Regions from separate parts of the Homo sapiens genome. Here region 1 is linked to region 2. The links are contacts of gene promoters, found by promoter capture Hi-C in blood cells and fetal thymus (Javierre and others, 2016). All regions are on one chromosome and are shown on one strand. The core of a region is centred on a gene start or on the middle of the fragment in contact, and the rest is flanking DNA. Distances in the headings are between cores, read along the strand shown.

Region 1 (6,090 bases), core at 384-2,883, 240 kb before region 2:
AAGATCATGACATAAGGTGATGGGGAGCCAGTATATCACATAGTGAGAGCAGGAGTAAGAGAGAAGGGGAGGTCTTAGACTCTTAAATAACCAGATCTTGTGTGAACTAAGCAAGAACTCATCACCAAGGGGATGGTGCTGAACCATTCATAAGGGATCTGCCCTCACGACCCAATTACTTCCCACCAGGCCCCACTTCCAACATTGGGATCACATTTCAACATGAGATTTTGAGGGGACACACATCCAAACTACAGCAAATCCTATTGGGGGCAGAAATGAATCTGCCATACATAGGCCACACCTACTATGTGCTGACATGATACAGGGAGAGGAGTATCAGGAATGACTGTTGGGGATCCCTCTGCCATTCTCCCATGAGCAGACATCCCCAGGATGAGCTGAGGGGAATGCAATGAGCAGGCCAAACTCTTTCCAAGCTGTTTGACCACACCCACCTACCCCAGCACTCTCAGCCCCTGCCTGGTGCCCTGTGCTGAGCTGGGTGAGGCTGGGGAGACTGGTGAGTGAGGGCTGCCCTGCCCTTTTTGAGCCCCCAGTCTTCTGGTGAAGGAACATAGCAACATGGAGTGATTGGTATGGATGATGCAAAACCAGGGACATGGGACCCAGAAGTGCCCGAGCCAGCCTGGAAGGCCTCTGCCCTGGGCCCCGGGTGGCTGTTTGCTGCACAGCTCTCCCCACAGCCTGCCCCAAATAAACAGCTTATCTTCGTCCCTGAAAATGGTGCTCTCGAGTTCCATCCTTTTCAGAGCGGGTCCTCCCAGACTCCTCTTCCTGCATCCTCCTCCATCCCGCTTAGTGACACTTTGCCGTGGGTGGAGCCCCTCATTTGATCCTCAAGCCCCCGAGGTGGGTATTATACCTCGTTCGCAGGCAAAGGCTCAAGCGAGGTCAGTCTTAAGTTGCTGCCCACTGACCCGTCTACCAGTCCTGTCCTTGCGTCTCCATGGCTCAGGTCAGGGTTATCCTATCTGCTTCCCACCTCTCTCCAACACATGCACTCCCCAAGGCAGGCTCCATCACCGGGCCCCAGCCCCTGGCTCTCTCCTCCAACGCAGCTCCCCAGCCGGCCTGTAAAACCGAGGACAGGCTCCCGCCACGCCCTCGGCGGTCCTCAGGCCTTGGCGGTTGGGGAAGCCCGCCAAGGGCGACGGTTCCCCTCCAGCCCCACAGGCTGTGCAGCTCCGGCAATGAGTCTCCCTCAGGTCTCTGGGTCAGCCGGCGCCCCAGTGCGTGCCTCGGGGGCAGGGATCCCGGCTTTTCACTACTGTTAGTAACAGCTCGCGCGCGCTGCTTCACAGCAGGTGGGTGAGCCTACTTTTAGTCTTCCCATCGACACCCTTAGATGGCAGTTTTAACTTTCTCCCTACACACAAGGAGCTGCTATACATGGTTCCGGCTTGACGCGGATACCTAGTGACACTTGGCGGCCAGGCCGGGCAGACTTCCGGGTGGGTGATCCCTGGCGCTGTGCGGAGCCATTCGCTGCGCTGAAGCAGTGCGCATGCGCACTGGACGCTTCTTACCAGCGTCCTGACTACAATACCCAGGACGCACCCAGCCCGCCGCCTCTCGGAGCCCTTTTCAAACCGACCAATCGGCAACCCGCGTCTCCCGGCGCCGCGTTTAAATCCGTGCCGGAGGCGCGTCCTGCATCGTCTGCCGCTTTGGGTAAGGTGGGGTCAGGGTCGGGGGCGAGGCTTGCCCGGTGGGCCCGGTGCGGCGCGGTGCCCGCCGTTTTCGGGACGGGGAGGGGCCGCGCCCCGCCAGGAGCCGGGCCTGGGCTCGAGCAGGGGTCACTGAGGCCCCTCGCGCCGTGGTCGGGGATGCCGGGAGGTCTAGGGCTGCCCCCCAGGCAAACAGAGCCCCCAACACTCTGGCCCAGAAGCCGAGAATTCCGTTATCTCGTCTGATGGCGTTCGGGCTGACTCCCGGCCTGGCGGCACTCGGGCCCTGGGGTCCCCTGGGATGCGATCATTTCAGAGCGGCCCCCGCGCCGCCTCTCCCAGACCTGGCCGCGGCCTTCAGCTCTCTCTGCCTCTGTGAGCCGAGGGCTGAAGGAAGCCGGAGCCCTGGGCCCTGACACGTACTCACTTTCTGGCCCCGTTCCACCCTGCAGTGACTTCTGACAGCTCTCTCCATGGAAGGAGGCGGCGGCCGCGATGAGCCTTCAGCCTGCCGGGCAGGGGACGTGAACATGGATGACCCTAAGAAGGAAGGCAAGTCCTTGCTGCTGCGGCGCTGTTGTTGTTCAGGATGTTCAGTAGAGATGGAGGGTGATTTAATGTTTCCCTGAGAAATTCTTTCTCAAGTGCTCGACTTGTACTCTGCACCTGTGAAACACATGACATCTGCCTTCGTTTTCTGGTTTTCTTTCACCTCCTCCCCATTTTAAGTTTCATCACAGCCAGGATTCTCATCCGTTTTATTTACCGCAGTGCTCCCATGCCCTGAACAGCACCTAACACTTTGTGGGCTCTCAAATATTTATTGTATTGAATTCGATGTTTTCTTTTTTGTTTGTCGCTGGTTTCTGTTTGCTAAGACTTATTTAGGATCTTTGAGACCATGTTAATGAGTAAGCCTGGCCCCAAACCCCTTTCTTCTTGTGTCTTTGACTGGTTTGGGTATCAAGGTGAGGGTACAGCTTCACAGAATGAGTTACAGGCCACACCCTCTTTTTCTCTCAAAGCGTTTTTATTTATTTATTTATTTATTTATTGACGGAGTCTCGCTCTCTCACCCAGGCTGGAGTGCAAAGGCGTGATCTGTACTCACTGCAACCTCTCTCTCCTGAGTTGAAGGGATTCTCCTGCCTCAGCCTCCCTAGTAACTGGGATTACAGGCACCCGCTGCCACACCTGGCTCATTTTTGTATTTTTAACAGAGACGGGGTTTTGCCATGTTGCCCAGGCTGGTCTCGAACTCCTGAGCTCAGGCAATCTGCCTGCCTCGGCCTCCCAAAGTGCTAGGATTATAGGTGTGAGCCACCTCACCCAGCCTCACAAAGCATTTTGACATCCCTTGGGTAGTTTTCTCACACTACCCAAGGATCCTTTCTTTTTGAGACCAAGTCTCACTCTGTCTCCCAGGCTGGAGTGCAGTGGCATGATCTTGGCTCACTGCAACCTCTGCCTTTCGGGTTCAAGCGATTCTCCTGCCTCAGCCTCCCGAGTAGCTGGGATTACAGGCACCCGCCACCACACCTGGCTGATTTTTGTATTTTTAGTAGAGATGGGGTTTTACCATGTTGGCCAGGCTGGTCTCAAACTCCTGACCTCAGGTGATCCACCTGCCTAGGCCTCCCAAAGTACTGGGATTACAGGTGTGAACCACCGCGCCTGGCCCCAAGCATCCTCAATGCCTCCATTTTGCAGGAACTGTCCTGGAGACTTTACAAATCAATGTTGCATCTTCATATCTAGCAAGGCGCTTGCCTCTGCACCCCTCTCCTCCTTCCTGTCATGTCCTTCCTTTCAAATATGTCCTTTCCACGTGCATACTGCACCCCCTGCTCCTTCTTGAGGCCTTCCCCACTTCCGTTGACCTGACTTCATTTCCTTACTTTTCCCCTGTCCACTACTGGATCATGCGCATCCACATACAGATAATGTTCCCTTGTCTCACTTGTCGCCACGTCTCCTCCGTTGCCTCTCCATTGCTGTGTTTCTCCTTCCAAGCCAAACTTTGAGAGCTTTCTCACTTGTTATGCCATTTTTTTCCGCCTCTCAATCCCTCCCATTCCGGCTTCTGTCCTTACCACTCCATTCAAGCTGCTTTCATCAGTCGTTGACGACTTCCACATTGCTGAATCTCTTTTCACTTTTCTATCGCCAGTCAGCTTTTCAGTAACATTCGTCCTTCTGGAAACTTCCCTTGCTTGGAGTCCAAGACGCTCTTGGTTTTTTCCTCCTGCCTCTCTGGCTGGTGTATCTTTTCTCTGTCGGGGGCTCCCCCTCTGCTGTCTTCTGAGGCTGATTTCCCCAAGACCTGCTCTGGGACCGCTTTGTGCTTTCGCCCTCAGGGCGGTCAGCATTCCAATAGCTGTGCAGCGTATCTGCTCTCTGCGGCACCCACGTTTTGTCTTGAGCGCAGCCTCTCCTCCGAGCTCTGGGCTTGTATATTCACCTGCCTATTTGGCGTCTTCACATGCACGTCTCATCTCAAACTTGGCATACCCCCTCTGCATCTGCATACCCTGTTCTTTTTGTCTTTCTCATCACCCATTTTATTTCTCCATTTCACCCAGCTGTGCAAGCTGAGAACCTCCTACATTCATGCCATCACCAGCTAACGTCTTCTCCACCTTCAGAAGATATCCTGAATCCATCTACAGACTCTCCATCTCCATCCACATGCTGCTGTCTGGGTCTCAGCCACGCTGTCTCACCGGCTTCTACTTCCCGTTGGCTAATATGTGCATTTGTAATGTCAGGGGATATTATCTGCTTCCTTTCGGATACACTTTCTACACAGTAACGTCACCTTTTAAAAACACAAGTTAGATTATAAAGCTCTTTTCTTTTCTTTTTTCTTTTTCTTTTTTTTTTTTGAGACAGAGTCTCACTGTTGGCCAGGCTGGAGTGCAGTGGCGTGATCTCGGCTTACTGCAACCTCCGCCTCTTGGGTTCAAGCAATTCTCCTGCCTCAGCCTCCTGAGTATCTGGGACTACAGGCGCCCGCCACCACGCCCAGCTAATTTTTTTTTTTTTTTTTTTTTTTTTAGTAGAGATGGGGTTTCACTGTGTTAGCCAGGATGGTCTCAATCTCCTGACCTCGTGATCTGCCCGCCTGGGCCTCCGGAAGTGCTGGGATTACAGGCATGAGCCACTGTGCTCAGCCTTTTTTTTCTTTTTGAGATGGAGTCTCGTTCTGTCACCAGGCTGGAGTGCAGTGGCGACATCTTGGCTCACTGCAACCTCCGTCTCCTGGGTTCAAGTGATTCCCCTGCCTCAGCCTCCTGAGTAGCTGGGATTAAAGGCATGAGCCACCGTGCCCAGCTAAGTTTTGTATTTTCAGTAGAGACGGGGTTTCACCATGTTGGTCAGGACGGTCTCGAACTCGACCTCAAGTGATCCGCCTGCCTCAGCCTACCACTGTGCTGGGATTACAGGCATGAGCTACCACGCCAGGCCTAAAATTCTTTTCTTAAAGCCCGGTAATAGTTTCCTATCCCACTTTGGAGAAAATAAAAGCTCCTTGCCATGGCTTGCAAACCCTCTGTGATCTGACCCAACTTGTGTTTTCACCTCTTCCAGCCACTCTGACTTCTGACCCGTTCCTCTCACACACGCTTTGATATTTTCTCAGAGGTGTTCCCACCTCTACATGTCTCTCACCGCACTGCCTGAGGCACCCTCCAGGGTGGGCTGCATGTACCCCAAGCCTGCCTGGCACCTAGCGAAGGATGTGGTCTGTTGTGGGTGCTCATGTGTTTGCAGGATGAGCAAGTCAGCCAGCCCGGGACCCCTCGGAGCCAGTCACAGAGCCTGGAGCAGAAGACTGCTTCCCTGAGTTCTGGTCCTGGATTCTTTTTCCACGCCAGACCATTAGAAGTTTCTGAAATTGACTTCCTAATTTAGAGGTGTAAAAAGTGAAATGTCTGCCTCTCTATATCTCTAAGTCACCTACTTGCCCTTCCAAGGGCCATCGATGTCATCAGTCTCTTGGGTATCCTTCCAGACATAATTTGTGCAGGTGCAAGCCAACACGCATAGAGTGTTGCATCCCCCTTTCCATATAGCATGGAGAGCCCTGTCCTGAATCTTGTTTTTCAGGCTTAATTTATCTTGATGAATATTGTGTATCAACACATGAAGAGCATTACTAGCTTTTGTACCTATATAGGGTTCCACCTTGGGGATATGTCATTCATCTCATCTGCTGTGGGTGAACATTTAGTTTGTGCCTAGAGTCTTGCTGTTACCAATGATGCTGCAGTAAATAACTGTGGACACCGTGTAACTGCACAACACATTGCTTTCCACACCTGTGAGTGTCTGTAGGATACACTTGCAGAAGTAGACTTGCTGGGTCGAAGAGGGTGTGTGTTTCTTACTTCGATAG
Region 2 (6,054 bases), core at 2,739-5,238:
ACAGACACCTCCATGAGCGCCTCCAGCGGCCGGTTGTTGTCCAGGTCGCGGCTGAGCTGCAGTTCGCCCGTGGCGGGGTCCAGCAGCAACAGGCGCAGCTCGTTGCCCTGCACGAAGGTGTAGTTGAGGCTGTCTGACACGTCGGGGTCATGGGCCGGGATGCAGCCGATCACGCCGGTGGGGAAACTGTTGGACTTGTTGGTGACATAGTTGTTGAAGAGGATCTGGAAGTCGGGCAGCACAGGCGGGTTGTCATTCTGGTCCACGAGAAGGATGTGCACCGTGGCTCGGCTCACCAGCGGAGCCGACGTGGCCTGCACCACCAGCACATACTCCCGCCGGACCTCAAAGTCCAGCTCCACCATGGCACGCAGGTCCCCGTTGAGCAGGTCCAGCTGGAAGAAATGCCGCATGTCCCCTTCCACAATCTGATACATGATCTGGGCATTAGGGCCTTCATCAGGGTCGTTAGCACGAATCTTTGCCACCACCGACCCCACTGGGTTGTTCTCCTCAACAAACAGCTCCAGTTCGTCCTTCTCAAACATGGGGGCATTGTCATTAATGTCCAAGATGGTCACCTGGATTTCTACCGAGGCGCTAAGGGGAGTGGGACTGCCCCGATCCACAGCCAGAGCCCAAAGGTTGTACACGGCCACATTCTCCCGGTCCAGCCGGCGCTGGGTGCGAATCACACCGGACGTGGGCTCGATGTAGAAGTCCCCATCGCCGTCGTCCCCACCCTGGAAGGTGTACAGCAGACGCCCATTGGGACCTGAGTCCCGGTCCGTGGCAGAGACCTGGAGGATGCTGGTCGAGGGTGGAGCATCCTCAAAGATGGAACCCTGGTAGAAATCCCACAGGAACTGGGGTGCATTGTCATTGGCATCGAGGATGAGGATCTCTAGGGTGGTGGTGTCTGATTTCTGCGGGATGCCGTTGTCCTGGGCCATGATGGTCAGCGTGTAGGCGACCTGGTTCTCATAGTCCAGCTCCATCATGGTGTACATGGTGCCACTGTCGGGGTCAATGCGGAACTGCGGCACGGGGTCCTGAATCACGTAGGTGATGCGGGCATTCTCTCCTGTGTCCTCATCGTTGGCACTGAGGGTAGCAATGGAGGTGCCCACAGGCCTGTCCTCACTGACACTCACTGTGTAATGGGAGCTCTGAAAGACAGGCCTGTGGGTGTTGGCATCAGTGACGTTGATTAGGACATGCGCAGTGTGCGACCGTGTGCCGTCGGATGCTGTCACCGCCAGCACGTACTGCTGCTCCTGCTTGTAGTCCAGAGGTAGCGCCAGGGTGATGAGGCCGCCCCCTCTCTGGCTGCTGAGTGCAAAGCGGTTCCGGGTGTTGCCGCCTGTGAGCTGGTAGGTAATCACACTGTTGGCGTCACGGTCGCGGGCCTGCAGGGTCAGCACGCTGCTCCCCACGGCCGCATCCTCATTCAGACGAAGCTCGTAGGTGGGCTGCGTGAACACCGGGTCGTTGTCATTCACGTCCAGCACCGTGATGGACACGCTGGTGGAGGAGCTCATGGGGGGCGAGCCGTGGTCCACCGCCTCCACCCCGAAGCTGTAGTGCTCCACCTCCTCGCGGTCCAGCTCGGCACACACTGTGATCCAACCGGAGCTGTTGTGGATCTGGAAGGGGAAGTCAGGGGTGGGGGCAGGATTCTTAGGCCCAGCGCTGCCGCCCCCCAGAAAGGTGGAGGCCGTGTCCACCAGGCGATAGTGCAGCCGGGCGTTCTCTCCAGAGTCCGCGTCCACCGCCTGAATGTGCACCACGGGGTAGCCCAGGGGCACATTCTCCAGCACCGTGGCCTGGAAGGGGCTGCTCACAAAGATAGGCTCGTTGTCGTTGACATCCAGCACCTGCACAGACACCACCCCTGAAGAATTGATGAGCGGGGGCCGGCCCCCATCCTGGGCCTTAATGCTCAGCGAGTATTTCTGGACATCCTCGAAATCCAAGGGGTTGATCACATCCAGGATCCCGCTCAGCGAGTGCAGGTAGAACTGGCCGGCCACGTTCCCGCTGAGGATGCTGTAGTGAATGGCCGCGTTCTGGCCCTGGTCCCGGTCCGTGGCCTGCACTCGCAGCACAGCCGTGTTGAGCCCCACGTCCTCGGGCACCTGGACCACGTAGTTCTGCTCGCTGAACTGGGGGTAGTTGTCGTTCTCGTCCTCCACCTCGATGTACACGGTGGCCGTGGCACTGAGCGGGCCCGGATTGCGCCCCTGGTCGTTGGCCTCCACCAGGAGCTGGTACTCGGCCGCCTCCTCCCGGTCCAGCACCGCCCGTGTGCTCACCACGCCAGAGCTCTCGTTGAGCTGGAAGACGTCCCACGCGCCCCCCAACACGCGGTAACGCAAGTTGGCGTTGATGGGCGAGTCGCGGTCGCTGGCGCGGATGGTCAGCACCTCGTAGCCCACCTCCAGGTTCTCCCGCACGCGCTCGCGGTACTCCGACTGCTCGAAGACCGGGCTGTGGTCGTTGGTGTCTTTGACCAAGACAGTGATGTAGGTGGTGGCCGAGCGCGGCGGCGTACTGTAGTCCACGGCTTTCACCCTGAGGACGTGCGTCTCCTTGGTCTCGCGGTCCAGTACGCTGTCCGTGCTCACGGCGCCCGTGGCAGAGTCGATTCGGAAGTAGCCCCGGGAGCGCTCGTCGAACAGCCCCTCCATGTAATAGCTCACGCGCTCCTCCTCGCCCTCGATGGTGTAGTGCGCGTGCAGCTGGAGGATGAGGGTGCCCGCCGGTTCGTTCTCAAACAACGCCACCTGGTAGTTGGGCATCGGAAACTTCAGGCTCCCTCTGCCGCTCGTGCCCCGCCGGGCCCGTCGCGCCGGCCCCGCCCGGGCTTCGGGCAAGTTCGGCGGCAGGGGCGGCGATGGGGATGGCGACGCGGAGGGCGTCCCCGCGGTGGCGGCCTCCAGCGCCAGTCCCACCCGGACGGCGCCAGCCGCGCGCCGCAGGGCGCACAGCAGACGCAGGCGGACCGAGCCGCCCGGCGGCAGGCAGATGGGACGGCCGGGACAGCGGGGCCTGGGGCGCGGCGGGCAGCGGCAGGCGGGTAAGGTGGTCGGAGCTGCGAGCGCCGAATGCTGCGCGGCCGCGCAGCCGCCGGGGACGGGGAAGCAGAGCGCCCCGCAGAGCCGGGCACCGGTTCCGCAGAGCCGGGCACGGGCTCCGCAGCCGGGAAGGTGCGTGCGCGCCCGCAGGCGGCGGCTCAGCGCCGTCGGGGCACTGCGGGCCACCAAGCGGACTTGCAGCGGCAGCGGGCGCCCCGCGCCCGAGACGCGCCGACGTCCTGCCAGCCGCCCATCGCGGCCCACGTCCAGCAGCTCCCGCGGCGCCCGGGGCGTGCAAGCGGCGCCCACCGCGTAGGTACAGCCGGGCCGGAGGGCGAAGGCGCGGGTCCCGCCGGGTACGCGCGGCTCCCAGGCGGCCGCTCGCAGCCCCATCGCCGGCAGGGCGGCGGCGGCGGCCAGGAGCAGCAGCACGGGCAGCACGGGCGGCGGCGGCGGCGCCATGGCCCGGAGCCCGAGCCCGAGCCGGGCGCCCGAACACAATCCATGCACCCGGCGCGCCTCCGCATCCACCCGGCGAGGCCGGGGAGCGGCTCCCGGGCGCCCGGCCCTCGGGGCGGTCCGCGTCCCGCCTCCCCGGGGGCCCTGGCGGGGACTGTGGGGACCACGCGCCCGGCCTCCCCCGCAGCTTCCACTTCGAGAGCACTTTGCGAAAGTTTGCGAAGTTGGTTTCAAGATGGCTCCTCCGCGCGTCCCGGGAGGGCGCCGCGCATCAACCTGCGGCGGCGGCGGCGGCTCCAGGCGGCTCCAGGTGGCTCCGGCGCGGGCTCGGCCGGACGGGCGTGGGAAGCGGGGCGGGCCCGGCGCGGGGCGGGGGCTGAGTTCCCGGAGCGGGCTGGGCAGCTCCGCGCCGCGCAGACCCCGGCGGCCGGCTGCTGCCTGGGCGGTGCGCTTGGCCCGCGCCCACTCCGCCCGCGCTCTCCCCGCCCCCGGCCCGGCCCCGCCCCGCCCCCGGCCCAGCGGCGTATTGTTCGGCCCCGGGGGGAGCCGGCTCGGAGGTGCGCGCCGAGAGGATCGCTATGGAGACGCGAGGGCGCGGCCGGGACGGGGACTGGGGCCCTACTCCCCGGAGGCCTCCCCACCCAGCCTCCCGGTGGGGCGGGGCCGAGGCAACAGGGCCGGGAAAGGTGGGGCTGGGGCCCCCGGTGGCCGCTACCCGTGGGGCGGTGGCTCCGCACCTCGGGCTCGGGGCCGCGGCTCAGAGCCTGGCTCCCCACCCCGGCAGAACAGATCCACGGAGACCGCCGCCAGGAGTGCCGCGCGGGTAGGACCCGGGGGCGGAGGACTGGGGCCGAGAGGCCGGGGAGCCCCCCCCCACCCATTAAGGACTGCGGAGGCTGTCGAGGAGGGTTACCCATTTTACAGCAAGACGCACGGAGGCTAAAATGCTTCACCCCGACTAAAACTCCCTGGACTTTGAAGCCCAATAGGCAGCTACCGGATCTGCGTCCCACTTGGTTTAAAGCGCAACTTTTAAATGAAAGAAGAAAACCCCGGTTGACATAAGGGATTTGGAGAGGACGGCGGAGGCGCGCTCATCTCCCGCGTGCGGCCCGACCCGAGCGTTCGCGGACGCATCGCGGAATCCCCGAGCGTCCGGCTCCTCCCGAAGCGGGTTGCGGGGAAGGCGGGGGGCTGCGGGTCCTGGAAGCTGCCTGGGGCAAGCAAGCACCCGCAGGGATTTAGAGCTGTGCCACAGCCCCTGCCCAGCCTCCTACGGAGGACAGCGGGGGGCGGGGGGCAGAGACCTTAGAGCTTTCAGAAAAGTGACACACACCCCCGCCTCCTGCGGGGAACCACGGGGGGCCGGGGGCAGCTTTAGGTTTGCGTGACGGGTACACCTGCCTCCGGATGGGGCACAGGGATAAAGGGGGTGGAGGCTTAGGACTTGGCGACCCCCCGCATGGGCGGGGCTTTGGGACTGTGCCACCAGCGGCTGGGAAGGGCGCGCACTCCCTTGGTGGCGCTCGGGGCGCCGGAGTCCAGTGCAGCCCTTAGGCCTCCCAGTGGTCGGGGACGGTAGGTGGGGGTCGCCTCTTCTCTCCTAGAAGGGCTTCTCCTGGGGCCGGTCGGAGCGGTGGGGGTGGGAGTAATGCGCAGTCACCCCTAGAACGGGTCTTTTTGGCAAGGGAGGGTCGGATCCTGCAGCCAAATCTCTGAGCTGAGCTGAGATGAGTCCAGTCTCAACGAGGACCGTGGGCGGCTGTGGAGAACCGGAAGGGTTTCTCCCCCGGAGCGATGTGTCTGTGTGTGTGTCACACGCATACTCAGCCAACTTCGCTCAAAGCTGCTGAAACAGTGTCTTTGTGCTGAAGCCCAATGTGAGCATTTTCTTCCCAGTAGCAAGGATTTGAACACGTTATATTGATCTAAAAGGTGGAGTTGCTTTGGAACCTTTTAATTCGAGGTTTCCACTGGAGAGTCCTGTTGGGAAATGTGTGTGTGGAGGGAGGGGAGGAAGGAGAAAAGTCCGTCTCCTTAATGTGAGCGGTCCAGGACCTCCCCACCCGCCATATACCCTTCCACTGGGATTTTTCCGGGAAGGATGAAAGGACAGGAGTTCTGGGGCCGGAAGGCAGGGCGGGTCCCTGAGCCCGGAGCCTCCCAGTGGAAGGCTACTGGGCGGACCTGAAGGGGACCCAGGCAGGAGGAAAAACCAGAGAACCCCAGGAGTGCCTGTTTTGCAATAAGGCTTTAAGCAGAGTGGGTTGGGTTTAAATAAACAAAACTCAGCTGCAGCCAGTGGGTTCAGGTGTGGGCCTGCTTTTCTGGAATAAGGCACCTGCAGGCTGCGAGGTAACCACAGGGACTGCCCAACACCTAGGGACAGGGGAGGATGGATGAATCTCACTAACAGGATGTCCAGCAAAGACAAAAGATCATTCCATTCACGCTTAGACCGACAGCAAGCCCGACTCCACCATAACGTTTAGAGGTGTGCACAAATAGGGGAAAGATG

Evidence for each region. Contacts are between HindIII fragments. The CHiCAGO score rates a contact against its expected background, and 5 or more counts as called.
Region 1: a contact is called between the fragment with the promoter of GTSE1 here and the fragment with the promoter of CELSR1 in region 2, in 4 of 17 cell types (M0 macrophages, M1 macrophages, erythroblasts and 1 more). The highest score is 12.3, in M0 macrophages.

Annotation. Positions count from the first base shown.
Region 1 is chr22:46,295,237-46,301,326 of GRCh38, forward strand. GTSE1 (G2 and S-phase expressed 1) reads left to right here and starts at 1,634. Exons shown (of 12, transcript NM_016426.7): 1 at 1,634-1,695; 2 at 2,144-2,243. The coding sequence starts at 2,165. GTSE1-DT (GTSE1 divergent transcript) reads right to left here and starts at 1,424. Exons shown (of 1, transcript NR_024009.1): 1 at 1-1,424. RefSeq lists a silencer at 1,692-1,891 and an enhancer at 2,042-2,151. The HindIII fragment of the contact is 11,600 bases long and covers 1-6,090 here.
Region 2 is chr22:46,533,632-46,539,685 of GRCh38, forward strand. CELSR1 (cadherin EGF LAG seven-pass G-type receptor 1) reads right to left here and starts at 3,989. Exons shown (of 35, transcript NM_001378328.1): 1 at 1-3,989. The coding sequence starts at 3,539. The HindIII fragment of the contact is 22,329 bases long and covers 1-6,054 here.